7 separate regions of the Homo sapiens genome follow, and all the other regions are linked to region 1. Evidence: promoter capture Hi-C in 16 types of primary human blood cells and fetal thymus (Javierre and others, 2016). All regions are on one chromosome and are shown on one strand. Each heading gives the region's core, a stretch centred on a gene start or on the middle of the fragment in contact. The rest is flanking DNA. Distances are from core to core; before and after follow the strand shown.

What was found. The method cuts DNA at HindIII sites, captures the fragments that hold promoters and counts their contacts. A CHiCAGO score of 5 or more calls a contact.
Region 2: a fragment that was not itself captured here is called in contact with the fragment with the promoter of PSMD12 in region 1 in 11 of 17 cell types (naive CD4 T cells, total CD8 T cells, naive CD8 T cells and 8 more); the score reaches 25.1 in naive CD4 T cells.
Region 3: a fragment that was not itself captured here is called in contact with the fragment with the promoter of PSMD12 in region 1 in 9 of 17 cell types (total CD8 T cells, naive CD4 T cells, activated CD4 T cells and 6 more); the score reaches 13.3 in total CD8 T cells.
Region 4: a contact is called between a fragment that was not itself captured here and the fragment with the promoter of PSMD12 in region 1, in 2 of 17 cell types (monocytes and M2 macrophages). The highest score is 7.7, in monocytes.
Region 5: a contact is called between a fragment that was not itself captured here and the fragment with the promoter of PSMD12 in region 1, in 1 of 17 cell types (M2 macrophages). The highest score is 6.1, in M2 macrophages.
Region 6: a contact is called between a fragment that was not itself captured here and the fragment with the promoter of PSMD12 in region 1, in 3 of 17 cell types (total CD8 T cells, naive CD8 T cells and naive CD4 T cells). The highest score is 7.9, in total CD8 T cells.
Region 7: a fragment that was not itself captured here is called in contact with the fragment with the promoter of PSMD12 in region 1 in 3 of 17 cell types (total CD8 T cells, M2 macrophages and naive CD8 T cells); the score reaches 8.0 in total CD8 T cells.

The regions. Positions count from the first base shown.
Region 1 is chr17:67,364,751-67,368,289 of GRCh38, reverse strand. PSMD12 (proteasome 26S subunit, non-ATPase 12) reads left to right here and starts at 1,713. Exons shown (of 11, transcript NM_002816.5): 1 at 1,713-1,878. The coding sequence starts at 1,771. RefSeq lists enhancers at 1,508-1,817, 1,838-1,897. The HindIII fragment of the contact is 3,672 bases long and covers 1,032-3,539 here.
Region 2 is chr17:67,608,825-67,612,363 of GRCh38, reverse strand. The region is part of intron 5 of PITPNC1 (phosphatidylinositol transfer protein cytoplasmic 1); the gene reads right to left. Among named protein-coding and RNA genes, the nearest start is that of NOL11, 110 kb to the left of the region's middle. The HindIII fragment of the contact is 1,301 bases long and covers 1,226-2,526 here.
Region 3 is chr17:67,576,642-67,580,180 of GRCh38, reverse strand. PITPNC1 (phosphatidylinositol transfer protein cytoplasmic 1) reads right to left here. Exons shown (of 9, transcript NM_012417.4): 5 at 1,924-1,995. Among named protein-coding and RNA genes, the nearest start is that of MIR548D2, 110 kb to the right of the region's middle. The HindIII fragment of the contact is 1,462 bases long and covers 826-2,287 here.
Region 4 is chr17:67,162,682-67,166,220 of GRCh38, reverse strand. The region is part of intron 15 of HELZ (helicase with zinc finger); the gene reads left to right. Among named protein-coding and RNA genes, the nearest start is that of HELZ-AS1, 80 kb to the left of the region's middle. The HindIII fragment of the contact is 1,343 bases long and covers 849-2,191 here.
Region 5 is chr17:67,204,548-67,208,086 of GRCh38, reverse strand. The region is part of intron 5 of HELZ (helicase with zinc finger); the gene reads left to right. Among named protein-coding and RNA genes, the nearest start is that of HELZ-AS1, 38 kb to the left of the region's middle. The HindIII fragment of the contact is 485 bases long and covers 1,552-2,036 here.
Region 6 is chr17:67,525,346-67,528,884 of GRCh38, reverse strand. The region is part of intron 1 of PITPNC1 (phosphatidylinositol transfer protein cytoplasmic 1); the gene reads right to left. Among named protein-coding and RNA genes, the nearest start is that of MIR548D2, 56 kb to the right of the region's middle. The HindIII fragment of the contact is 7,724 bases long and covers 1-3,539 here.
Region 7 is chr17:67,498,475-67,502,013 of GRCh38, reverse strand. The region is part of intron 1 of PITPNC1 (phosphatidylinositol transfer protein cytoplasmic 1); the gene reads right to left. Among named protein-coding and RNA genes, the nearest start is that of MIR548D2, 29 kb to the right of the region's middle. The HindIII fragment of the contact is 3,249 bases long and covers 153-3,401 here.

The DNA.
Region 1 (3,539 bases), core at 464-2,963:
GCCATAAGACCCATCTGATGGACTATAAAATAAAAAAAAAACAATAAGAGCTTTACCAAGAAGTGGCTTGTTGCTCACCATTTTGGAAAATGTCACCAACAATAGGCCCTTACCATGCTTCAGGAACCAAGAGAACACACCTGTTGCAGTTGCAGCTTTTACATTTATAGTTATTGTGTATGGGTGTAAATAACTACTTCCTTGTATTTTCCACTGTAGACATGTTTTAGCCCTTATCTCTTGAAATATATATTATTTTGCTATTTTAAAATTTGTTTCTTGGTTGGGCACAGTGGCTCACACCTGTAATCTCAGCACTTTAGGAGGCCAAGGTGAGAGGACTGCTTGAGGCCAGGTGTTTGAGACCAGCCTGGGCTACGTAGTATAGCTGCTATCTCTACAAAAATAAAAAAAAGGTAAAATTTGTTTCTCCTCTACATTACAGATTATAGCTGAGATATTGTCTTATTTTGCTTGTAGATGGTTTATATTTTCCCTGATTTTCATTGCAGTTAAAACAAACAAAGAGATCTATTCAGCATCTATAAAGCGATGTCGGCACTAATTAAATTGAGAACCACTAACATAATAGATAAACCACTCCAAGATTTCCCGTTTTCCTGTTTGCTTTCCAGGCTGCTGTTGACCATATGCCCACACCAAACACAACCTCATTCCCATTTTCTTTACTTTTCTTTTTCTTTTTTTTTTTTTTTTTTGAGACGGAGTCTTGCTCTGTCGCCCAGGCTGGAGTGCAGTGGCGCAATCTCGCCGGCTCACTGCAAGCTTCGCCTCCTGGGTTCACGCCATTCTCCTGCCTCAGCCTCCCGAGTAGTTGGGACTACAGGTGCCCGCCACCACGCCCGGCTAATTTTTTGTATTTTTAGTAGAGACGGGGTTTCACCGTGTTAGCCACGATGGTCTCGATCTCCTGACCTCATGATCCGCCCGCCTCAGCCTCCCAAAGGGCTGGGATTACAGGCGTGAGCCACCGCGCCCGGCCTCATTCCCATTTTCAAGGATCCTAAGCTTTTTTAAGATCTCAAGCTATTTTCTAGGGACCAGCATGGTATGAATGATAACACATAAAACGTGTAAGGCCCTTAAGAATTGAAATTGTCTCACATGTCATCTAGTTTGATGCTCACGAAAATCCTATAGGGATAACAAATATGTCTTTTTAACTTTTCTTTTTACCAACTTAGTGGATTACAGTGAAAATGAAAACAAAGAGAAAAACCACTTTGCTTATTAAATGACTGAGCTGCTGCCATATCTTCTCTTAGGAGCTTTCAGAGATCCCACAGAGTAAGCCACCAAGATTCTCAAGTAGATAAAACCTTAGAATTTTCTATTTTAAGGTTTATTTTAGCCTCCTGATGTAGAGATGAGAAAACCGAGATCCAAGAAAAGCGACTGGCCACGGTCCTGAGAAATCATATTTCGAAGCAGGGGTGTAGGGATATATGAGATGGTCTGTTCTATTACACTCGCTTTTCTCATCGCAAATTTTAGGTAAAAAGTCTGATGTTCCCAGAGACAAAACCTGACGCTGCAGGCTGGAGTGGCGAGTCCCGCCCCGCGCGCCTCAAGCCCCACCCCCAGGCTGTCCGCGGCAGTGCCTGAGTGGCAACCAGCGCCGGGGACCTCGAGGGGTCCTTTGCGTGGGCTCCCGATGGGCTGCCTGAGCGGGTGCGCGGGCAACTTCCGGTGTGGGTGACGAGTGGTGGCCGAAGCAGGGGGACAGCAAGGGACGCTCAGGCGGGGACCATGGCGGACGGCGGCTCGGAGCGGGCTGACGGGCGCATCGTCAAGATGGAGGTGGACTACAGCGCCACGGTGGATCAGCGCCTACCCGAGTGTGCGAAGCTAGCCAAGGTGAGGAGAGGCCGGCTGGCTGTTGGCGGGCGCCAGGGGCTGAGTCACGGCGCGGAGCCTGCTTAGGCCTCAGGGGGCCTGCGGGCTGGAGCGTGCACCCCCCAATGCCTGTCCAGCCCTAGTTGGGCCTGCACGAGTGGGAGACCCCAGGTCGGCCCGGCCAGGGCTGCGGAGTACGCCAGCGCCTATAGCTTCCCAGACCCTCCCCAAAACAGATGGTCACTTCCCTCCGTGGGACTTAGGGCTCCGTTTAACTTTTTGCCGTTTCTTGGATGCTGTTTAAGTGATATTTACCTTAGTAGTTTCCCAGGGGTTAAGGCCGCTTCAGTATTAAGGCTAGATCAGAGAGTTTCGTTCTGTTGCTGTTGCTCAATCAATTTATGTCGTTACATCGTTTGTGGATCATGGCTATGTGCCTGGTCTTTGGCCAGGAGAAGGGGCAGGAAAGTGATAGTACGAAGATGACTAACACAGGACCCTGTCCTTTAGGAGTTGATGTACGTGATGAATTAGTCAAGTCATGCATGGTGGTGAGGGCCATACAAGGGGAAAGTGTTACTGGAACACCGAGAAGGAAGCTATGCATTCTTAATGGTGCCATAAGGGAAGGTTTTACAGGAAGGCTGACGTTTGTATTGGGTCTTGAGGAATTAGTAAGATTGAGGTGGGGTGGAGTCATTACTGAAGACGGAACTACAGAAGTAAAGACAAGTAGGCACTATAAGAGTTTAACGGGCTTTCCAAGAAACAAGGATGGAGAAAGGTGATAAAGTTGGTACGTATGTATATCTTAGGTTCAGTATGCTTGCTGAGGGGGAGCCACAAATTCATTAAGAGCTTTCTAGCAGCTAGCATCAACAAACATCAGTTACATAAGGGTGGGAAAACTCAGCCGCCTCCAATGCCAGACAGATAACAATAACTGATATTTGTTGAGTAGTTTCTGCAGTGTCAGGCACCGTGCTTACATGCACTAAGCCATTTGATCCTCACCTCAGCCCTATGCGATGGCTATTACTATTATCCTTATTTTACAGGTAAGAAAACTTGGGCTAGAAAAAGTTGAATCACATGCCCCAAGATCATACAGCTAGTAAAGTGGTGAAGCCAAGAAGCAAACCCAGGCAGACCGATTCTAGATTCTGGAGCTGGTGCCCTCACACACCATGCTGTCCTGCCTAGAAGCCTATTGTAGTGAAAACCTGAACTTTTTTTTTTTTTTTTTTTGAGACGGAGTTTCACTTTTTTCACCCAGGATGGAGTGCAGTGGCGCAATCTTGGCTGACTGCAACCCCCGCCTCCCGGGTTCAAACGATTCTCCTGCCTCCGCCTCCCGAGTAGCTAGGACTACAGGTGCCACCACGCCCGGCTAATTTTTGTACTTTTAGTAGAGACGGGGTTTCACTACGTTGGCCAGGCTGGTCGCACGCGACCTCCTGACCTAAAGTGATCCACCCACCTCTGCCTGCCAAAGTGCTGGGATTACAGGCGTGAGCCACCGCGGCTGGCCAAAAACCTGAACTTTCGAGCACCTGCCCAGGAAAAGGAGACGGCAGATCTTCACCTTCAGATAATCTTTGCCAATTGGGGATGAAGGCCGAGTATTGTCGATGCTGCTAATTTGAGGGAGAAACCAGGAAGATGAATTTCTCATTAAATAC
Region 2 (3,539 bases), core at 627-3,126, 240 kb before region 1:
TGGACTTAGTACATCTGCCTCCTCTCATCAACTCACCTCCCTGGATCACCCTCCTTTCTCTCTTCCTTGCTCTGGGCCTGCCCCCATGACCCTGTGGAGCCTGAAACTTCCTCTCCACATCCTGCTCACTCTTCAGCCTTCAAGACTCTTGCCCTTGCTCCTCCCTTGCCCTGAAGGCTCTCCCCACCCTATCTGCCTGGCAAGATATCTGCCTGCCCAAGATGAGTTGGTACTCATCTTTCAAGACCGTGCCCTGCCAAGGCTTTCTTGATCACATTTTAGTAAAGATTTTAGTAAAGCAACAATGTGTATAATGAATTTAGATTTTGAATAACATTCAGCTGTTGTTTAATTCTTGGGCTCTCAAGGCCCCAACCCCTATCTCCCTGATGGAATTGCCAGGAAACGCTAATAAGTGGCTTGTCTTCGCTGTTGTTACTTTCGTTAAATTAGGAGGTCATAAATCACTTACACGCCAAGAAAGGTTGAACCATTATCCTTCAACTCCAAGCTTTTAAAGTTTCTCCTCCTAAAACCAAAGCCAATAAAAGGCAACAGGCTCATTGTGATTTTTGTTTTAAAAACCATTCATTGGCCGGGTGGCTCATGCCTGTAATCCCAGCACTTTGGAAGGCTGAGGTGGGTGGAACACCTGAGGTCGGGGGTTCAAGACCAGCCTGATCAACATGGAGAAACCCCGTCTCTACTAAAAATACAAAATTAGCTGGGTGTGGTGGTGGCACATGCCTGTAATCCCAGCTACTCGGGAGGCTGAGGCAGGAGAATTGCTTGAACCCAGGAGGCGGAGGTTGCGGTGAGCTGAGGTCACGCCACTGCACTCCAGCCTGGGCAACCAGGGCAACAAGAACAAAACTCCGTCTCAAACAACAACAAAACAACAACAAAACCATTCATCTATTGATCTGAGGAATCCAGAGTAAATTTCCTGGTTATATTGGTTTGGATAGCTGTCTGGACACAGAAGATGAAATCAACTTGACAGGTAATAGCAAAAGTCATTCATTTTGGTGAATTCTGCAAATCCAGACTAGTAGCATCCCAAGGATTCTAATAAAAGGATGGTCATTGCTGAAGTACCATTCAGTGCCCCAGTACTACAGGCACATGTGGCCTTACAGTCATGGGGAATAAGCTATACAATATATCTCATTCATCTATGCATCCCTCAGACCTTCTTCTAGTATCTCATACATTAATAGAAGCTTAACACTCAAAGTTTTAATTTTTATTTTTTGCTGTTGTTGAACTGAACTGTTAGACTGAACACCAGGTATGTTGAATTTTAACATTACCATTTATTTCCTAGTAGTTTACTCATTTTGTTTGCCAGCAGATGACATCTTGTTAGCCAACAAGTAGCAGCAGATGTCAAAGTTTAGAAAATAATATTTTTTTCTTTTCTTTTTCTTTTTTTTTTTTTTTTGAGACAGAGTCTCACCCTGTCGCCAGGCTGGAGTGCAGTGGCGCAATCTCGGCTCACTGCAACCTCCGCCCCTCGGGTTCAAACGATTCTCCTGCCTCAGCCTCCCGAGTAGCTGGGACTACAGGCGCATGCCCCAGTGCCCAGCTAATTTTTGTATTTTTGGTAGAGATAGGGTTTCACCATGTTGGCCAGGATGGTCTCAATCTCTTGACCTTGTGATCTGCCCACCTCGGCCTCCCAAAGTGCTGTGATTACAGGCGTGAGCCACCACGCCCGGCTAATGTTTGTATTTTTAGTAGAGACAGGGTCTTGCCATGTTGACCAGGCTGGTCTTTAACTCCTGACCTCAAGGTGATCTGCTGGCTTCAGCCTCCCAAAATGCTGATGTGTGCCGGCACCACGCCTGGCCCAAAGTTTAGAAAAGAATTTGTAAGAGAAAAAAGTAAAAATCAGATGAAGCCCATTTACTAAGTTTATTTATTTATGCAAATTAGGAAAAACAATTTCCAATGTAATTTTCGGAGCGGAATCCCTTGAATCAGAGATTATTTTGAGAATCTTGCCTCAGTGCCAAGGACCACAGAGCCTGAGGGGCAGCTTAAGTTCCTTGCACAGAACAGGCCCTTCCAGCAGGTTCTAGATAGTGCCTCCGGTGCTTTCATGCGCACACAACACCTGGGAAATCTTGCTTGCTTAGATTCAGGTTCCGATTCAGTGGGTCTAGGGTGGGGCCTGAGATCCTAACAAGCTCCCAGGTAATGCTGGCACTTAACACTCTCGTATCCTGACCTGATATTTTGGGCATATTATGTTTGAGGCAGGGAGCATGGAATAGCGGAACGACAGAGGAAAGTAGTGGCCGGGCGACAGAAGGTCTTGGGTGCCAGTCACTGTGAAAATGATCAGATTTGAAGTCTACGTGGATTCCCTGGGCAGATAGCTCTGTGGGAGATATGGGTTTAGTGTGAGATTGCTCTAGAAAAGAAATAAACACCTTAACTAGGGCCATGGTAGCCGGAATGGAGAAGTAGGATGGATGTAATATTTAAGAGGTAAAACCATCCAAATGGAATGCCCAAGCTTGGGTACAAAAAGCAAACCTGGATCCAAGGGATGTGGCTTTTTTTTTTTTTGGAATTGGATCTAACCAGATCCAATTCTGCTGTGAATGACCCCGTGAGGGCTTCATCAACAGTTTGCCGGACTCAGAGCACAGGATAGAAAGAGTCCACTGTCGCCTCTGCTTTGGGATTCTTCCTGCTCTCTCTTGGGGTGACTTTTCAGCACAGGCAGCTGTCCTTTTTTCTCCAGTGCTTAGAAGAACATGACTGGCTGGGTGCGGTGGTTCACGCCTATAAACCCAGGACTTTGGGAGTCTGAGGTGGGCGGATTACCTGAGGTCATGAGTTCGAGACCAGCCTGGCCAACATGGTGAAATCCCGTCTCTATTAAGAATACAAAAGTTAGCCGGGCATGGTGGCGCATGCCTGTAATCCCAGCTACTTGGGAGGCTGAGGCAGGAGAATCACTTGAACCCGGGAGGCAGAGGTTGCAGTAAGCCGAGATTGCGCCATTGCACCCGGCCTGGGCAACAAGAGTGAGACTCTGTCTCAAAAAAAAAAAAAAAAAAAGGAAGAAGAAGAAGAACATGACCAACTCTCCCACCAGGCCTCCGACACCAGCTCTGTGATGAACACAGCTTGGGAAACCAGGGGAGGCTAAAGTCTTCTCAAAGGCCAGAAAATAAAATACAGGGAAGGCTGTGCACAGTGGCTCATGCCTGTGTTCCCAGCACTTCGGGAGGCTGAGGCAGGAGGATAGTTTGAGCCCAAGAGTTCGAGACCAGCCTGGGCAACATAGGAAGACCCTGTCTCTACAAAAAATAAAAATAAATAAATAAATAAATAAAATCACAGGGAAGCCATGCATGTTGGGGAAAGGATATTCTGAAAGTCCACAATGACTCAGTATTGCTAATACAGAATTCCTGCCAAAGATGCACAGTCTGAATCTAATCATGAGAACACAATGGGGAAAACCCAGCAACAAGGACATGCACAAAACCAGCCAGTGTTCTGCAAAATGTCAGTGTCAC
Region 3 (3,539 bases), core at 307-2,806, 210 kb before region 1:
CAGGAAAAATCATTATAGGGAAGCATACTTCAGGGCATGTTAAAAATAACATACTATATGATTCAATTCAGGAGGAATTGGTTAAAAAATAAATTTGTCCATAATCTGCAACATGAACCAAATTGCTAACAGAAGTCATCTCTAAATTGTGGGATTGCTATTGGTTTTTCCTTTCTTTTTTCAATACTTTCTTTTTGCATTCTCCAAGTTTGAATAGCCATGTATTAACTTTTTTTTTTTTTGAGACAGAGTCTCGCTCTGTTGCCAGGCTGGAGTGCAGTGGCGCGATCTGCGCTCACTGCAACCTCTGCCTCCCAGGCTCAAGTAATTCTCCTGCCTCAGCCTCCTGAGTAGCTGGGATTACAGGCATGCGCCACCACGCCCGGCTAATTTTTTGTATTTTTAGTAGAGATGGGGTTTTGCCATGTTACCCAGGCTGGTCTTGAACCCCTGAGCTCAGACAATCTGCCCACCTTGGCCTCCCAACATGCTAGGATTACAGGCGTGAGCTACCGCGCCCAGGCTGCTTTCTAATCAGAAAAAAAAAAAAAAAAAAAAAAAAAAAATCACTATTTTACAAGGATTCAAGTTGAAACACAGTGTGACACTGTTTTAGGCATGGTGGTTTTGATGAATTTGGCCAGCAACGCGCCTGTGATTTCAGGCTGTGACAGGAAAATGGCCCTAAACATTTCCCATTGGGCTGCCACTTCAAGGAGACACTAACGATGGGGTTCCTGAACAGAGTGGTAGGATAGTACTGCTGCCAGCTGTATTTTTCTCTCCTCTGGGAAGTTCCATGAACTCTGGGGAAGCCCCGAAGCTTCTAGATCCAGGTTCTTCCTTTCAACGGGTCCTGAGGGAACCCACAGCCTAATCCCAGGTGAGGCTTTTGGTAGGTCAAAACAGTCACCCCCAAAGAAAAGAGAAGTTAGAAATTTACTGCCCAAACAGAAAGAGCCTGGGGGTAAAAGCCAGGTCAGAAGATGGGTTTTACCCAACACTAATAAGCAAAATACTTGGCTGAAATTTAGTAAAAGTCAGAATGCCTCAGGAGGTAAATATTTTGTGGGGGTACCCCCTGATTTTAAGGTAGGATGTGTGGGTGTATACATACACCGCATGTGTGTAAGTAAGCATGCATGCAGTATGCACACACATATCTGATTCTATTTCCTTTTCTCTTTTTTTATTTTTTTGAGATGGAGTCTCGCTCTGTGGCCCAGGCTGAAGTGCAGTGGTGCAACCTCGGCTCACTGTAACCTCTGCCTCCCAGGTTCAAGCAATCCTCCTACCTCAGCCTCCCAAGTAGCTGGGATTACTGGTGTGCACCACCACGCCCAGCTAATTTTTGTATTTTTAGTCGAGACAGGGTTTCGCCATGTTGGCCAGGCTGGTCTTGAACTCCTGATCTCAGGTGATGTGCCTGCCTCAGCCTCCCAGAGTGCTGGGATTACAGGCGTGAGCCACTGCACCAGGCCTGTATTTCCTTTTCTGTTCACACATACATCTGACTGTATTTCCTTTTCTGTGTACACATATCTTTGATTGTATTCCCTTTCCGAAGTAGATATTAATAGGCATTGAGAAGATGTGTACTCTGTCCAATGATCAAAAACCAAATCTTGGAGTTCCAAGTGCCCTGTCATCCTCTCCACCTCCATGACAATCACCCCAGGTCAGAGGCTTCTGCTCAGAGGCCCAGGGAAAGTACATAAAAATGAGAAGAAAGAAAAGCTAGACAACAAAAGAATTCCAGGGAAAAGTCCCAGGGAAATAACCCTCAGAAGCCAAAGGCCAGAACATCTCTGAGGTCCCAGGCACAGGTCCCACTGCTGGCCCTGGTCACAGAGGGGCTGTGAGAAGTGCTGTGATATTCAGAGCCCACGAGGCGAGCGCAGCATGGAAGGAGGGGCTACTCACGGTGTCATTGCTTCCTTTGTTGTCCTCATACTTGGTTTCTATATGAATGGAGAATTTCGGCAGAAAGGAACACTGTGGGAGAAAAGCAAATTTTCATTAGCATAACATTTTTTCTCTCTTCCTATATTCAGCAGAGCTTCTGAATACTTTCCTGGCCATTTGGTTGCAAGCACCGTCCCGGAACAGAAATGTTAAGATACTAAGTCAATATCCAAATTCAGACAAAGGAAAGCCGCCTTTAGGACAATGAACACAGTTTCATCCAGACAGAGGTCAGGCCACAGAGAATAACCAGCAGTAGAGGGCAAGTCCCTGAAGAGAACATTTCCAAAAGGAATATGTTCTGTGACTCCTAGCATAAGCTTTAGAAAAGCAAACCCCTAAATCACGCCAGTTCCAGTTCTGGTGAGCTTACTTTTGGGGAGCAGCTACCATTGCTGGATTCCTGGGGACCCAGCCTTAATCTTTATATAAATGCTCATATAACATTAGCAAGGGGATATAGTAGAACTTTAAAGTCATAGATTATTGAAGTCAGACAGACCTGGCTTTTATTTTTAATTTTTAAAACATAAATTTATTTTTAATTTTTAAAACATAAATTTATTTTTAAAGTAAAATAAAAAAAATTTTTAAATTTATTTTAAATTTTAAATTTTATTTTTAATTTTTAAATTTTATTATTTTTTATTGTTTTGAGACAGGGTCTTGCTCTGTCGCCCAGGCTGGAGTGCAGTGGTGTGGTCTCGGCTCACTGCAACCTCCACCTCCCAGGTTCAAGTGATTCTCATGCCTTAGCCTTCCGTGTAGCCCGGCTAATTTTTGTATTTTTAGTAGAGATAGGGTTTCTCCATGTTAGCCAGGCTGGTCTCGAACTCCTGAGCTCAAAAGATCTGCCCACCTTGGCCTCCCATAGTGCTGGGATTACAGATTACAGGCGCCCGGCCTTCTTTTTATTTTTATTTTTGAGACAGAGTCTTACTTTGTCACCCAGGCTGGGGTGCAGTGGTGCAGTCACAGCTCACTGTAACCTTGACCTATGGGCTCAAGCGATCCTCCCACCTCAGCCTCCCAGGTAGCTGGGACTACAGCTATAGGTGTGTGACACCATGCCTGGCGGATTTTTAAAATTTTTTTGGTAAAGGCAAGGGTCTCTCTCTGTTGCCCAGGCTGGTCTCAAATTCCCGGCCTTATGCGATTCTCCCGCCTCGGCCTCCCAAAGTGCTGGGATTACAGCCATGAGCCACTGCATCCGGGCGAGACCTGGCTTTTAATATGTAATTTGGATAAGTCATTTAACTTCTCTGAACCCCAACAGAGTTAAAACAGGAGTAATAATTATTACCTAAGAGCAACACTGTGAGGGTTAAATATTAATAAAATGATGTTTTAAAAATGTATAATACTGGGCAGCAAGAATGCATTCAGCAGACAGCATCCATGGGTAGAAACTGAACCAGAAAAGGCAGCCCCTGTCTTTGTCTTTGTCCACACGAGGGACAGAAACCCCAAATGCAACCCAGCCCTACAGCCCCAGTCTCGCTGAGTCAAGTCCTATGCATTCAGTAGATGTGAAGGGTTAAGGTGGCTTAAGAAGAGAATTTTGATGGATGTTG
Region 4 (3,539 bases), core at 271-2,770, 200 kb after region 1:
TCCAAGTAGAAGTTGAATGGGGAAATTAGGGCCTTTCTAAAGTGGTTCCAGTAGTTAATTTAAAATAATTTTTATTTATTTATTTAGAGTTGGGGTCTTGCTCTGTCATGCAGGCTGAAGTGTAGTGGCATGATCATTGCTCATTACAGCCTTGAACTCCCGGGCTCAAGCAACTCTCCTGCCTCAGCCTCTGAGTAGCTAGGATTATAGACACATGCCACTGTGTCTGGCTGATTAAAAAAAATTTTTTTTTGTAGACAAGGTTCTTGCTGTCTTGTCCATGCTGGTCTCGAAATCCTGGCCTCAAGAGACCTTCCTGCCTTATCTTGCCAGAGTTCTGGGATGTGAGCTACTACACATGTCCTAATTTAAAATAATTTTTAAAGATAGGAGAGATTTTTAGAAATTATCAAAATGGATGAAGTACGATAGAAGAAACTACTTCAGAAACTGCTCTCCAGTTAATGGTCGTATAAATATTGTTCTGCTTAAATTTTTTTGGGATGTCTTTACATGTAATGAAGAAGGTACTTCCATTTTGTTATAAGCATGGATGACAGTGAGAGCTGTATGCCTGCATCTGTCTTTTCATCTCTTCACTGGGTTTTATGCCCTTAGCACCTGCCCATGCTCAACTCACAACACCTTTGTTTCTTTTTTAATCTCAGTGGCTCTACAAAATAGAAGTTTATTTATCACTGTGTCAATTCAATCATGGTAGGATGGCCCTTTCCAAGACTAATGGAGCCTCTGGGATCTTTAGTAAGTGGTTTCCAGGGTCACCCTGGGTGTTGACGTTCAGCTGGCCGACAGGGGAAGAGTGAGCACGGAGGGTCACGTGGGAAGCTTTTATGGGCCAGGCCTAGGAGTGGTATATATCACTTCCCCTCACATTCCATTTCTTCTGGTCCTAAAAACAGAACAACACGAAATATGCGTTACAACACAAAACCTCAGTCATTTCTCCCTTGTTTTGCTTACTCTTACTGTGCAGTCCCCTCTGTTCTTTTTAGTGCCAAAATTCTTGAGAGGGAATAGTCTGCGTGTTTCCAGTATTCTTTCTTATTCACTCTGTAACCTCTGTTTTCCTCTTGTGTACTATCCTGAAAGTGATTGGTGATCTACTGATTGTAAAAATCCAGTGACATCTCCCAGTTCTCTTCGGATTCAGCTCCTCTTCATGCTTCCTTTTCTTTTCATTCTCAGAGCCAGTGCTGCTTTTAGACCCGGACTATTTCAGTAGCTTTCTAGTTGGCCTTTTGTCCTGTTGTCTGTGGCCCTGTTTTCTGGCTCATCACAAATATTTCTCCCAGAGTTAGTTTTCTAAAATAATCATGTCATTTCACTGCTCACAAATCTGATGGCTTCTCCTTGATATGTAGATAAAGGGTGAGCAGTCTAAGCCAAAGCGCCTGTGTATGGCCTCGTTGACTGTGCTTTCCAGCAGTATCCTTTCAGATTTCTTCTACTTTTTTCTACTTGACACTCCTTTTCTCCCTCTAAACTCTCATGTTTTAGCAATGTTGAATTACCTTGAAGTTTGTTTAATTTGCCCTGTACTTATTTGCCTCCTTATCTTTATGTTATTCTTTTTAAAAAGTTTTTAATTGTGGTAAAATCCACATAACATAAATGTACCCTCTTTACCATTTTAAGTGTACAATTCCATAGTGTTAAATATAGTCACACTGTTGTGCAATCTCCAGAACTTTTTCGTCTTGCAGAACTGATACTATACACCCATCGGACAACTCATTTCCCCCTTCCTGCAGCCTTGCCTCCTCTTTAAGTGATTTTCTGTCTCTCATATAATCTTTGCCCAATGTTAATTCACTGAAGATCTCTCTATCCTTTAAGATTGAGTCCAGCTCATATGCTCTCTTCCTCAAGCAGATGAACCTGACCCTTCCATGTCAATATTTTAACAACTATTTATTGAGTGCCTGACATGCGCTAGGCTCAGTTTTGTGTTTTCAAGCATAATTTCTCTCAGTTTATCAATTAATTCGTGAACATTTCTAGACAGTTTTTCTGGGTAAACTCTGAGCTTTGTACAGGAAGAGACTGCGTCTTATTTTTCTTTGAATACCAACAGGGTTTTACATATTATTCATATTCGGCACATTTAAGTTCATAAGAATTTCGAGTTTAAAGAAGAAAAGTTTCAATTGTAAGGCCATACCAGTAAGCTTTTAGGCATTTTTCTTGATATGCTCACTTCTGAAAATTACATTGTATATGATGTAGTATATTTAAATACTACTGACTGTAAGTTTTAACTGCAAAAGTAAGCAAACTTTCAAGCAGGAAAAGATTTTTATACCACTGTAATTTAAATAGCAATTAAAAGGTATCTGGGTCTAGGAACATACTGAGAAACTATTAGTTGTAATGGTAATGGGCTCACACCTGTAATCCCAGCACTTGGGGAGGCCGAGGTGGGAGGATTGCTTAAGTTCAGGAGTTAGAGTCCAGCCTCAGCAACATAGACCCCATCTCTATACATAAAGAAATAAATAGGTTGGGTGCGGTGGGTCACGCCTGTAATCCCAGCACTTTGGGAGGCCGAGGTGGGTGGATCACGAGGTCAGGAGATCGAGACCATCCTGGCTAACATGGTGAAGCCCCATCTCTACTAAAAATACAAAAAAAAAATTAGCCGAGCGTGGTGGTGGGCACCTGTAGTCCCAGCTACTCGGGAGGCTGAGGCAGGAGAATGGCGTGAACCCTGGAGGCAGAGCTTGCAGTGAACCGAGATCGCGCCACTGCACTCCAGCCTGGGCGACAGAGCGAGACTCTGTCTCAAAAAAGAAAAAGATACTAAGTTGGGTCTCTAAGAATTTGATAAATAAATACAAGTTGTTCCACTCATTGGCTTTCTATAAATGTTTATCATGATATCTGTCTCATTCTTAAGTTCATTAAAGTCCTCAGATTTGAAAGATGAAAGGATGTTTTAAGAACTTTTTGCTTTGAAAGCATGTACTAGTCAAGTAATATCTCATTTTTCTGTAATCTCTATAAAATATTGTAGTAACAAGCTAACCTTAATTGAGCTTTTGTTGCTCAATTATTTTTCTAAACAGCTTTACATGTATTATCTCACTTGATCTTTAAAATAACCATCTGATGCAAATGTCATTATCTTCATGCACAGATAAAGGAACCATTGGGGGCAGGTATCATAGAATCACAGTGGTCAGGTATAGATTGAAGTAGCAGTTTACTGAACTGATTGTGGCTTTAAAAGGTGGAGTTATCAGCCTAGAGATATGTGGTCCAGGGCTGTGCAGGAGCTCTGCAGGGCCATCATGGACAGACACCTCACCCTCCTCTACTATGTAGGGCATGTTCATTTTCTTCCTGATGTGTTTTGCCTCATGCAAAATATAAGATGGCTGCTGTAGTTTATTTACTTTTCCTGGTCAGCTGTGGAAGGAAGTGAAGAGCAAGAAGGCCTTTCTTTAGTTAAAAAAAAAAAAAAAATTAACAATAAGCAAGGCTTTGCTTTTATTTTATTGGGTATAGAAGTCCTTCTC
Region 5 (3,539 bases), core at 545-3,044, 160 kb after region 1:
CATATAGCATATGACCTTTTCAGATGGCTTTTTTCCACTCACCATGGTCCTCTTGAGATCCATCCATGCTGTTTTTTGTTTTTGTTTTGAGACAGGGTCTTGCTCTGTCGCCCAGACTGGAGTGCAGTGGAGTGATCTCAGCTCACTGCAACTTCAGCCTCCTGGGTACAAGCAGTCAGCCTCCCAAGAAGCTAGTATTATGGGTATGCGCCGCCATGCCTGGCTAATTTTTGTATTTTTAGTAGAGATGGGGTTTTGCCATGTTGGCCAGGCTGGTCTCGAACTCCTGGACTCAGGTGATCCACCTGCCTCAGGCTCCCAAAGTGCTGGGATTATAGGCTCGGCCTTTATTTTCATTTTAAATTCAGTTTCTGAATTGTTAGTTCTGAGAGCATGATTATATCTAAGCAGTGAGTGATTTTATATCATTACTGACTAAAGGATTTAGTTTGTATGGTAATGAAAAAAATTTTTAGGAAAGTTTTTGGAAAAAATACCTTCATTAGGCTAAGCTCTTTAATAAAACACTTCAGAAGTAACTAAGGATTTGATAAAAGAAATAACCTAGGCTGGGTGTAGTGGCTCACACCTGTAATCCCAGCTCTTGGGGAGACTGAGGTGAGTGGATCACCTGAGGTCAGGAGTTCGAGACCAGCCTAGCCAACATGGTGAAGACCTGTCTCTACTAAAAATGCAAAAATCAGCCAGGTGTGGTAGCACGTGCATGTAATACCAGCTACTGGTGAGGCTGAGGCAGGAGAGTCGCTTGAACTGAGGAGGCGGTGGTTGCAGTGAGCCTAATCATGCCACTGCACTCCAGCCTGGGCAACAAAGCGAGACTCCATCTCAAAAAAAAAAAAAAAAAAAAAAAAAAAGGCCGGGCGTGGTGGCTCATGCCTGTAATCCCAGCACTTTGGGAGGCAGAGGCGGGCGGATCACTTGAGGTCAGGAGTTCGAGACCAACCTGACCAACATGGAGAACCGCCGTCTCTACTAAAAATACAAAATTAACCATGGGTGGTGGCGCATGCCTGTAATCCCAGCTACTTGGGAGGCTGAGGTAGGATAGTCGCTTGAACCTGGGAGGCAGAGGTTGCAGTCCGCTGATATCATACCACTGCACTCCAGCCTGGGCAACAAGAGCGAAACTCTGTCTCAAAAAAAACCCAAAAAAACAAAAAACAAAAAAACCCGGCATAGTGGCTCACGCCTGTAATCCCAGCTCTTTGGGAGGCTGAGGCGGGTGGATCACCTGAGGTCGGGAGTTCAAGACCAGCCTGACCAACATGGAGAAAGCCCGTCTCTACTAAAAATACAAAATTAGCCGAGTATGGTGGCGCATGCCTGTAATCCCAGCTACTCGGGAGGCTGGAGGCAGGAGAATTGCCTGAACCTGGGCGGCAGAGGTTGTGGTGAGCCAAGATCGCGCCATTCCACTCCAGCCTGGGCAACAAGAGTGAAACTCCGTCTTAAAAAAAAAAAAAAAAAGTCCTAATATGGTCATATTACTGAAAACAGTAGAGAATATGTACTCAACATTTACTATAAGCTTGTTTTAAGATTACTTTCCTTATATTAGGTAATTCTTTACAAGCAAAGGGAATTGCATTTTAATTGTTAATCCTTGCCTTGTGATAGCCAGAGGCTATGGAACCCCAGCAAAGATGTATTTTGCTAAAACAGTTGAATGAATATTACTCCTTTAAGTCTACTCAGTTTCTAATCCAAAACATTCTAAGTAAGACATATTTCAAGTGTTAGAAAATATCACAAAAAAGATACACAGCGAGCTGACAGAAGTCCTCCTTTGTAACTCCTAGTGAACAGAAAGGAACAATTCAGTTTGAGAACAGTTGTGTGCGCACAGTACACTCTCACACATAGTTGATGGGAAGAGAATTTATCTGCAAGGAGCTGTAACTTTTTTATAATTGTTCAAGATTGTATTATTAATGTCATGTCTTTTGGCAAGTTCAGTTTTTATAGCCGAGACAAGTTTAATAATACAGTAGGCCATACTTTTTTTCCCCCAAGCTTTTTCAAGGTAATAAGGAACTAGATTGGCAGCATTGCAATTTAATTTTGTTATACGATACAGTAGCAGGAGAGGTTTTTATCTATAGTTATTGACTATTTCTATGCCATAGTTTTTTATATGGGATCCTCCCATACATAAATTGAATTTCATTTAAGGGGAACAGGAAGAAAGTATGTCAGTACTGCTTCTTGTCTGAAAAAGAGATGGAAAAAAGGGAAACATAAATTTGACAAATATTAAGATATTCATACAGCAATGTAGTGGAAGAAACTTGCAAAATGAAATTCAGCAAATACCTCATACAAAACCAAAGATCTATGAAACCTGTTTGTAAAATGTTATGTGATTTAATACTCTTTAAGTATGACATCATCATATGAAGTTGAAATACTCTTAGACTTTTTCATTCCTGCAAACATTTTTCAGCTCTTGACAACTAGTTTCTTAATATCCCAGTTACTAAAAATGAACTAAGATATTTCCTCAGCAGTGCTCAGTACTGCTGTAAAATTTTTAGAAGGGGAAGGTAATATGTAGGGAATTCTTACTTATGCAGGAGACTGCTAGTTACTTTTCTAATTAGCATAATTAATCTTTACCACAACCTTATGAAGTAGCTACTGTCACCTCCGTTTGATAGGGGAGGAAATAGGCTTAGCGATGTAACTAATCCATACCTTAGTAGGAGTGTCATTTTTCTTCAGAGCAATTTTTTTTTTTTTTTGAGACAGTTTCGCTCTTGTCCCCCAGGCTGGAGTGCAGTGGTACGATCTTGGCTCACTGCAACCTTTGTCTCCTGGGTTCAAGCGGTTCTCCTGCCTCAGCCTCCCGAGTAGCTGGGATTACAGGTGCCTGCCACCATGCCCGCTAATTTTTGTATTTTTAGTAGAGACGGGGTTTCACCATGTTGGCCAGGCTTGTCTTGAACTCCTGACCTCAGGTGATCTGCCCGCCTCGGCCTCCCAAAATGCTGGGATTACAGGCATGAGCCACCATGCCTGGCGAGAGCATTTTACTTGTATTGTTTCATTTAATCTTTAATGGCAAATTTATACGTGTTTCTGTTTTACAGATGGCCACACTGAGGGTCAGAGAGATAAGTAACTTGCCCAAGGTCAGATTTGAAGAGTTTTAGGAATAGTAAGATCTGAGGGAGATGAATACTTACCTTGGAACTTTATAAGACACTCAAGACATTCTTAATGATACCTTATTGGAGTTTTTCACTTGATAACTCCTTATTGGAGTTTCACTAGATAACAGAATTATCTAGTGACTGTTGAATAGATGAGTGATCTGTAATATGGATGGATTGAAACAATAGATTCGTCCAAACTAAAAATAATTGAATAAAACCCTGTCAAATACAGAGAGACTGCAACTTTCAATTTAGTAAATTCAATAAAAGGTATATGTAAAGATTTTTATTATGGCATTATTTTTAATAGTTAATAATTGGAATTATTATCTTATAAGGGAAGGGTTAAATAAGTTGATGTAT
Region 6 (3,539 bases), core at 576-3,075, 160 kb before region 1:
CTCAGACACAAGCAGCAGTTTCTCGTTTGGGGGAGGGAGAAGAGACAGAGAGTCCTTGAACCACGTGTTTCAAAATCTCCAGAGACACTCCTAAAAATGCTGAATCTCAGGTTGTTCCAGACCTTCTCCATTCAGACTCTGGGGAGAAAAGAGTGGGAATCTTTCAGAAATGCACATAAATGCTGAGAACCGCTGCAGCAGAACGTGGTGAAGGCAGCCATCAGCACTTGCTCAGCTGTAAATGTTCTGTCTTTAGGACGCTTGTTTCTTTTTTCCTCCTTTATACTGATTTCTTACAAAGCTCCATCCCTAACTTAGTGAAAATACCATATCCCTGACCACCAGCTCCAAACAAACTTGTATGTTGAATAAAGGCCACAACATCCAAAGACATAGAAAGATTCTAAAGCCTCCAAAGCCTGAGAATTGATCGTAGAATTGATGATGATGATACAGCATCACTTTATTGATTGCCCATTAGTGCAAGGCACTGATTAAGTGCTTTATATTTCTTTTGCCTTTCTTTTAAAAGAGACAGGGTCTGGCTGGGCGCAGCGGCTCATGCCTGTAATTCCAGCACTTTGGGAGGCCGAGGCAGGCGGATCACCTGAGGTCAGGGGTTCAAGACCAGCCTGGCCAACATGGCAAAACCCCGTCTCTACTAAAAATACAAAAATTAGCCGGATGTGGTGGTGCACGCCTGTAATCCCAGCTAATCGGGAGGCAGAGACAGGAGAATCACTTGAACCCAGGAAGTGGAGGTTGCAGTGAGCCGACATCACGCCACTGCACTCCAGCCTGGGCTACAGAGGGAGCCTTTGTCTCAAAAAAACAAAAACAAAAACAAACTAAGTAAATAAAATAAATAATTTAAAAAATTAAAAGCAGCAGGGTCTTACTCTGTCACCCAGGCTAGAGTTCAGTGGCATGATCATGGCTCACCTCAGCCTCGACTTCCTGGGCTCAAGCAATCCTCCTGCCTCAGCCCCTTGAGTAGCTGGGACTACAGAAGTGTGCCACCACACCCAGTTAATTTTTATTTTTTTACTTTTGTACAGACATGGTCTCATTATGTTAGTCTCCAACTCCTGGCCTTAAGCAATTCTCCCACTTTGGCCTCCTAAAGTGCTGGGATTACAGGCGTGAGCCACTGCACCCAGCCTATATTCCTTTTTTTTGTTTTTGAGATGGAGTCTCGCTCTGTCTCCCAGGCTGGAGTGCAGTGGCGAGATATCAGCTCACTGCAACCTCCACCTCCTGGGTTTAAGAAATTCTCTGCTCAGCCTCCTCAGTAGCTGAGGTTACAGGCGCCCACCACCACACCCAGCTAATTTTTGTATTTTTAGTAGAGACGGGGTTTCGCCATGTTGGCCAGGCTGGTCTCGAACTCCTGACCTCATGATCCATCCGCCTCGGCCTCCCAAAGTGCTGGGATTACAGGCATGAGCCATTACACCCGGCCGCCTATGTTCATTCTAATCTCTCAATGATTCAGACAAGTGAGTATTGACAGACGAGGAAGCTGAGTTGCAGACAGGTTGAAGACTGTATGTTACAGAGTTTCTAGATGTCAGAATTGGGATTCTGACCCCCCACAGGCCTGTACTCATTCTAGTCCACACAACTTCAGCCCTTATTTCTTTACCAAGTTAAATGCTTTAAAAATCTAGGCCTCGTGATGATTTAAAAAGAGGGGAGGGAGGTGGCAGAAAGCTACTGCCTCTGACCTTTGCTATTGCAGAAGATGAGTAACAAAAATCTGATTGAAAGATCAAAGTTGTTTAATCTGTGCACATGTAAGGAATGGTGGAGCAATTATGCTCTAACTTTGTAAAATCTATTGTTATAATTCCAGAGTTTGGGTAATCATCATTACAGGCAATCATGACTAGAGACAGTTCCATGCTGCAGACTGAACCTCCGTGAGTTATCATCAGAACAGCTACTCCAAATAATTACCTCCATAGTCAAAAACATCATGGGATGCAGATCTTTCCCCACACACCACGCTGTACACTTGATAGAGCTGCAAAATTGGAGGCAAGGCAGAGTTGCATAATGTACTGAAGAAGCTCAGCAGTTTCACTAGTTTGAACTTTTGCAAACTCTTACATGGGGCACCATCCAGTCATTTAACTTTTTTTTTTTTTTTGAGATGGAGTCTCGCTCTCTGTCGCCCAGGTGGAGTGCAATGGTGCAATCTTGGCTCACTGCAACCTCTGCCCCCCAGGTTCAAGGAATTCTCCTGCCTCAGCCTCCCAAGTAGCTGGGATTACAGGCACACACCACCATGCCTGGCTAAGTTTTGTTATTTTTTTAGTAGAAACGGGGTTTCACCAGGTTGGCCAGGCTGATCTCGAACTCCTGACCTCAGGTGATCCTCCCGCCTCAGCCTCCCAAAGTGCTGGGATTATAGGCATGAGCCACCACACCCAGCCAAGTCATTTAATCTTGAACCTTGAATTAAAAAGGCAACCCCAAGCCAAAACTTCTGAGTACAGTAAGGGATTATCAAATGAGTGCCAACAATACCTTCAACATCATCCATGCCTGAAGAAATACTGGATCCAAAGTTCTAGGGTCAGCAGAGCTCTAAGCTATCACTGATTTTCACTTCACCCTTCCCCAACTGCTGCGTCCCAGAGTTTCTGCAAAGCCAGCCTCCATAACCCCCTACCCTAAAGCACCTAGTGGGGGTCATCTTCCTACCAACCAATCTCTATGCCCTCCCTTCCTGTCCTCTTTCTTTCCCTCCATTAGTCCCAATACCATTTCCAAACGTCACAATGTGAACAGCGGGAACCATGGCTTTGCAACGTAGATTCCCAAATTGGGTGGTGGTAATCCCCGCCTGGGGACCTCAAGGCCCCAGGTCAGGAAACAGAATTTATATTTACTTTGGCCTTTACCATCAAAATGGGCGGACGCCATATCACCTAACAAGCACAGAGAAACACCTGTCCCTCTGATTTCACGTGAAATCACATATTTACCCAGCTGTGAAACGTGTGTGATTCCTGCCTCACACTGGCTATGTTGGAAAAGCAGAGAGTGATATCATTTGGCTTTCTTGGGAGTTTCCTGCATTCTTCACATCACCATTAATGCTTTTGTTGAAGCCTTTCTTCCAGCTTTCTCCGCTGTTACCTCTGCTGGACCTCAAAGCACAGGGAAGCAATTGCTTCAGGAGGCACAAACCATCCACTGCAGAGAGCACCTGAAGGATAAATGACGCAGAACTCTGGCCCACCGTTGCTTCATGCCAAGTGGTGTCAAAATTCTAATTACACACAGGAAAGGAGATCCAGTGAGTCCAGATTTTGACAACCTCATCTCAGAAAGCTAGAGGTGAGAGCTGTCTCTTTTTCTGGTAATCCCACAGCACAGCTAAGGCCCTAGGACAAATGTTCTAGTCTAATGGTTGGCAAAGCATGCAGGCTGATGCCTGCTTTGTAAATAAAGTTTTATTGGAACACAGCGATGCTCATTCATTCTATGGCTGCTTTCATTTACAATGGCAGAGTTGAATACTTTGAGAG
Region 7 (3,539 bases), core at 528-3,027, 130 kb before region 1:
CAATAGCTCATTTAATCCTCGTTAATTTAATACTCACTAATAGGTCAGTGTAATTATGATCACCTCCCTTGTACAGATGAGGAAACTGAGGCACCGACAAAGCAGAAGACCAAAATGACGAGAATTTCAGGCATGCTAGAATTTAGAAAGCTTACTTCCCTCAAACTTTTTTTTTTTTTTGAGACAGAGTTTTGCTCTTGTTGCCCAGGCTGGAGTGCAATGGCACAGTCTTGGCTCACTGCAACCTCCACCTCCCACGTTCGAGCAATTCTCCTGCTTCAGCCTCCCAAGTAGCTGGGATTACAGGCTCCCACCACCACATCCCGGCTCATTTTTGTATTTTTAGTAGAGACAGGATTTCACCATGTTGGCCAGGCTGGTCTTGAACTCCTGACCTCAGGCAATCTGCCCGCCTTGGCCTCTCAAATTGCTGGAATTACAGGCGTGAGCCACCGCACCCAGCCAGCCCCCAAACTTTTAATGTGGAAGTTACAAGAGGGTAACTTCCAAAGGGTAACATCCAAAAGGTTGCAAAATAAGGGAATGGAACAAAAAAGAGGAAGAAATAAATTTAATAAAATGTTGAGACAAGGCAGCGAAGGAGACAGGACAGGCTGGTAGATTGGAGCCAGATGACGATGGCTGAGAAGTAAGGAGATGTCATATAACCCGGAGTGCATCTACAGCACTAGGTGATGAAAGTGTATTTTTGGGGTCTATATGAAAAAGAAAGCAAGAAGGAATTCCAGGATAACACAAAAGGAATAGTCGATGGTAAATAAGAAAAGAGAATTCACTCGAACTGCGATGCATGAAATGCTATCCTCTAGGTGGCCTGTGGATTGTGGCATTGGTCCTATAGAGAAAGTAATAATATGACATTAGCACCTAGACCTGCAGTGGGCAATGTTTACACAGCGACAATAAATGTTGTTTACTGGTGTCCAACATTCAGAAATAAGCTAAAGATATTAAGATTAGAAAATGGAATAAATGGAATGTAACAGTTAAGAATCTTTCTTTTGGCCAGGTGCAGTGGCTCACGTCTTTAATTCCAGCACTTTGGGAGGCAGAGATGGGAGGACTGCTTGAGCCCAGGAGTTTGAGACCAGCCTGGGCAATATAGAGAGACCCCTGTCTCCACTTAAAAAAAAAAAAAATTTTGTCAAGTGTGGTGGTGTGCGCGCCTGCGGTCCCAGCTACTCGGGAGGCTGAGGTGGGAGGATCACTTGAGCCCAGGAGTTTGAGGCTTCAGTGAGCCGTGAGCCATGGGCCATGATCCGTGATTGTGCCACTGTACTCCAGCCTGGCTGACAGAGTGAGACCTTCTCTCAATTAAAAAAAAAAAAAAATCTTAAAAAAAAATTGAGATATAATTCAAACCATAAAATTTGTCCTTTTAAAGTGTAGAATACAGTGGGTTTTAGTATATTCATGAGGTTGTTACAACCATTACCACTATCTAATTTCAGAACATTTTCCTTATCCTAAAAAGAAACCTGGTGCCCATAAGCAGTTAATGGTATTCCTCGAGGCCCCTGGCAATGACTCATCAACTTTCTGTGCCTATCCTGGATATTTCATATAAATGGAATCATGTAATATGTGGCTCGTTGTGTCTGGCTTCTTTCACTTGGGTATGATGTTTTCATGGTCCATCCATGTTGTAGCATATATCAGAATTTCATACCTTTTTATTACCAGATAATAGCCCATTTATGGATATACCATATTCATTTATCCAGAATTTGGACAACGTAAAAGGGAGAAAAATGAAAGGGTAAGGCCTTAATGTTTTATTTAGAAAGGAAAGAGAATATTGCCGAAAACTGACAAAACAAGAAACAGAGACAGAAATGCAATAACTAGAGGTAGCTAAGAGAACTAAAACTAATTGTTTAAAATGATTAACCATCAGAAGAAGATAAGCTGAGAAGCAGTACAAGCAAACTAAATCCTCTGCAGCCTACTTATATATTCAAGGGGAGAAGATGGATAATTCTAAAACTGATACATTGAGAAAGAGCATACAGTATATGCATTTATTTAAAACGATGGAGGCTCACCAATGGAAGAACTAAGAACAGATGTACAGTCATGCATTGCTTAACGATGGGGATATGTTCTGAGAAATGTGTGAAATGATTCTGTCGTGCAAACATCATAGAATGTTCTTACACAAACCTAGATGGTGTAGCCTACTACGCACCTATGTTGCTTCTACACTACAAACCTGAAAAGCATGCTATTGTACTGAATGCTGTAGGCAACTGTAACATAACTATAAGTGTATGTGTATCTAAACACAGAAAAGGTACAGTAAAAATACAGCATTATAATCTCATAAGACCACCATCATATATGCGATCTTTCCTTGACTGAAATATTGTTATATGGTGCATGACTGTAATTGCCTCTGGGCAGTAGGAAGTAGGGAGGTAGCAGACCAGCTATTCAGGCCAAGGTCTTTACTTTGTTTCCTAAGATTCCTCAGGCTGGCCGGGCACAGTGGCTCATGCCTATAATCCCAGCACTTTGGGAGGCCAAGGAGGGTGGATTGCTTGAGCCCAGGAGTTCAAGACCAGCCTGGGCAACATGGTGAGACCCCTGTCTCTACAAAAAAATAAAAAAATTACACGGGCATGGTGGCACTTGCCTGTAGTCCCACCTACTCAGGAGGCTAAGGTGGCAGGATCACTTGAGCCCAGGAGGTGAAGGTTGCAGTGAGCTGAGATCACACCATTGCACTCCAACATGGGCAACAGAGCGAGACTCTGCTTCTCAAAATAAATAAAAACGGGCAAAGGACTTGAATAGATATTTCTTCAAAGAAGATATACGGGCTGGGCACGTGGCTCATGCCCATAATCCCAGCACTTTGAGAGGCTGAGGCAGGCAGATCACTGGAGGTCAGGAGTTCGAGACCAGCCTGGCTAACATGGTGAAACTCTGTCTCTGTTAAAAATACAAAAAAATTAGCCAGGCATGGTGGCGGGTGCCTGTAAGCCCAGCTACTCTGGAGGCTGAGGCAACAGAATCGCTTGAACCTGGGAGGCAGAGGTTGCAATAAGCCGTGATCGTGCTACTGCATTCCAGCCTGGGCAGCAGAGCAAGACTCCATCTCAAAAAAAAAAACAAAAACAAACAAAAAAAAAAACAAAGAAGATACACAAGTGACTAGTGAGTACATGAGTATATGAAATGATATTCAACACCACTAATCATCAAGGAAATGCAAATCAAAACCACAATGGGATATCACCTCACACTCGTTAGGAAGGCCACTATCAAAATAACAGAAAATAACAAGTGTTGGCAAGGACGTAGAGAAACTGGAATCATTGCACACCATTGATGAGCTTGTCAAGTAGCACAGCCGCTATGGAGAACAATACGAAGCTTCCTAACAAAATTAAAACTGGAACTACCACATGATCCAGCAATACCACTACTGGTTATATACCCAAAAGAGTTGAAAACAAGACCTCAAAGAGATATTTGCACACCCAAGTTCATTGCAGCATTATTCACAAGAGCCA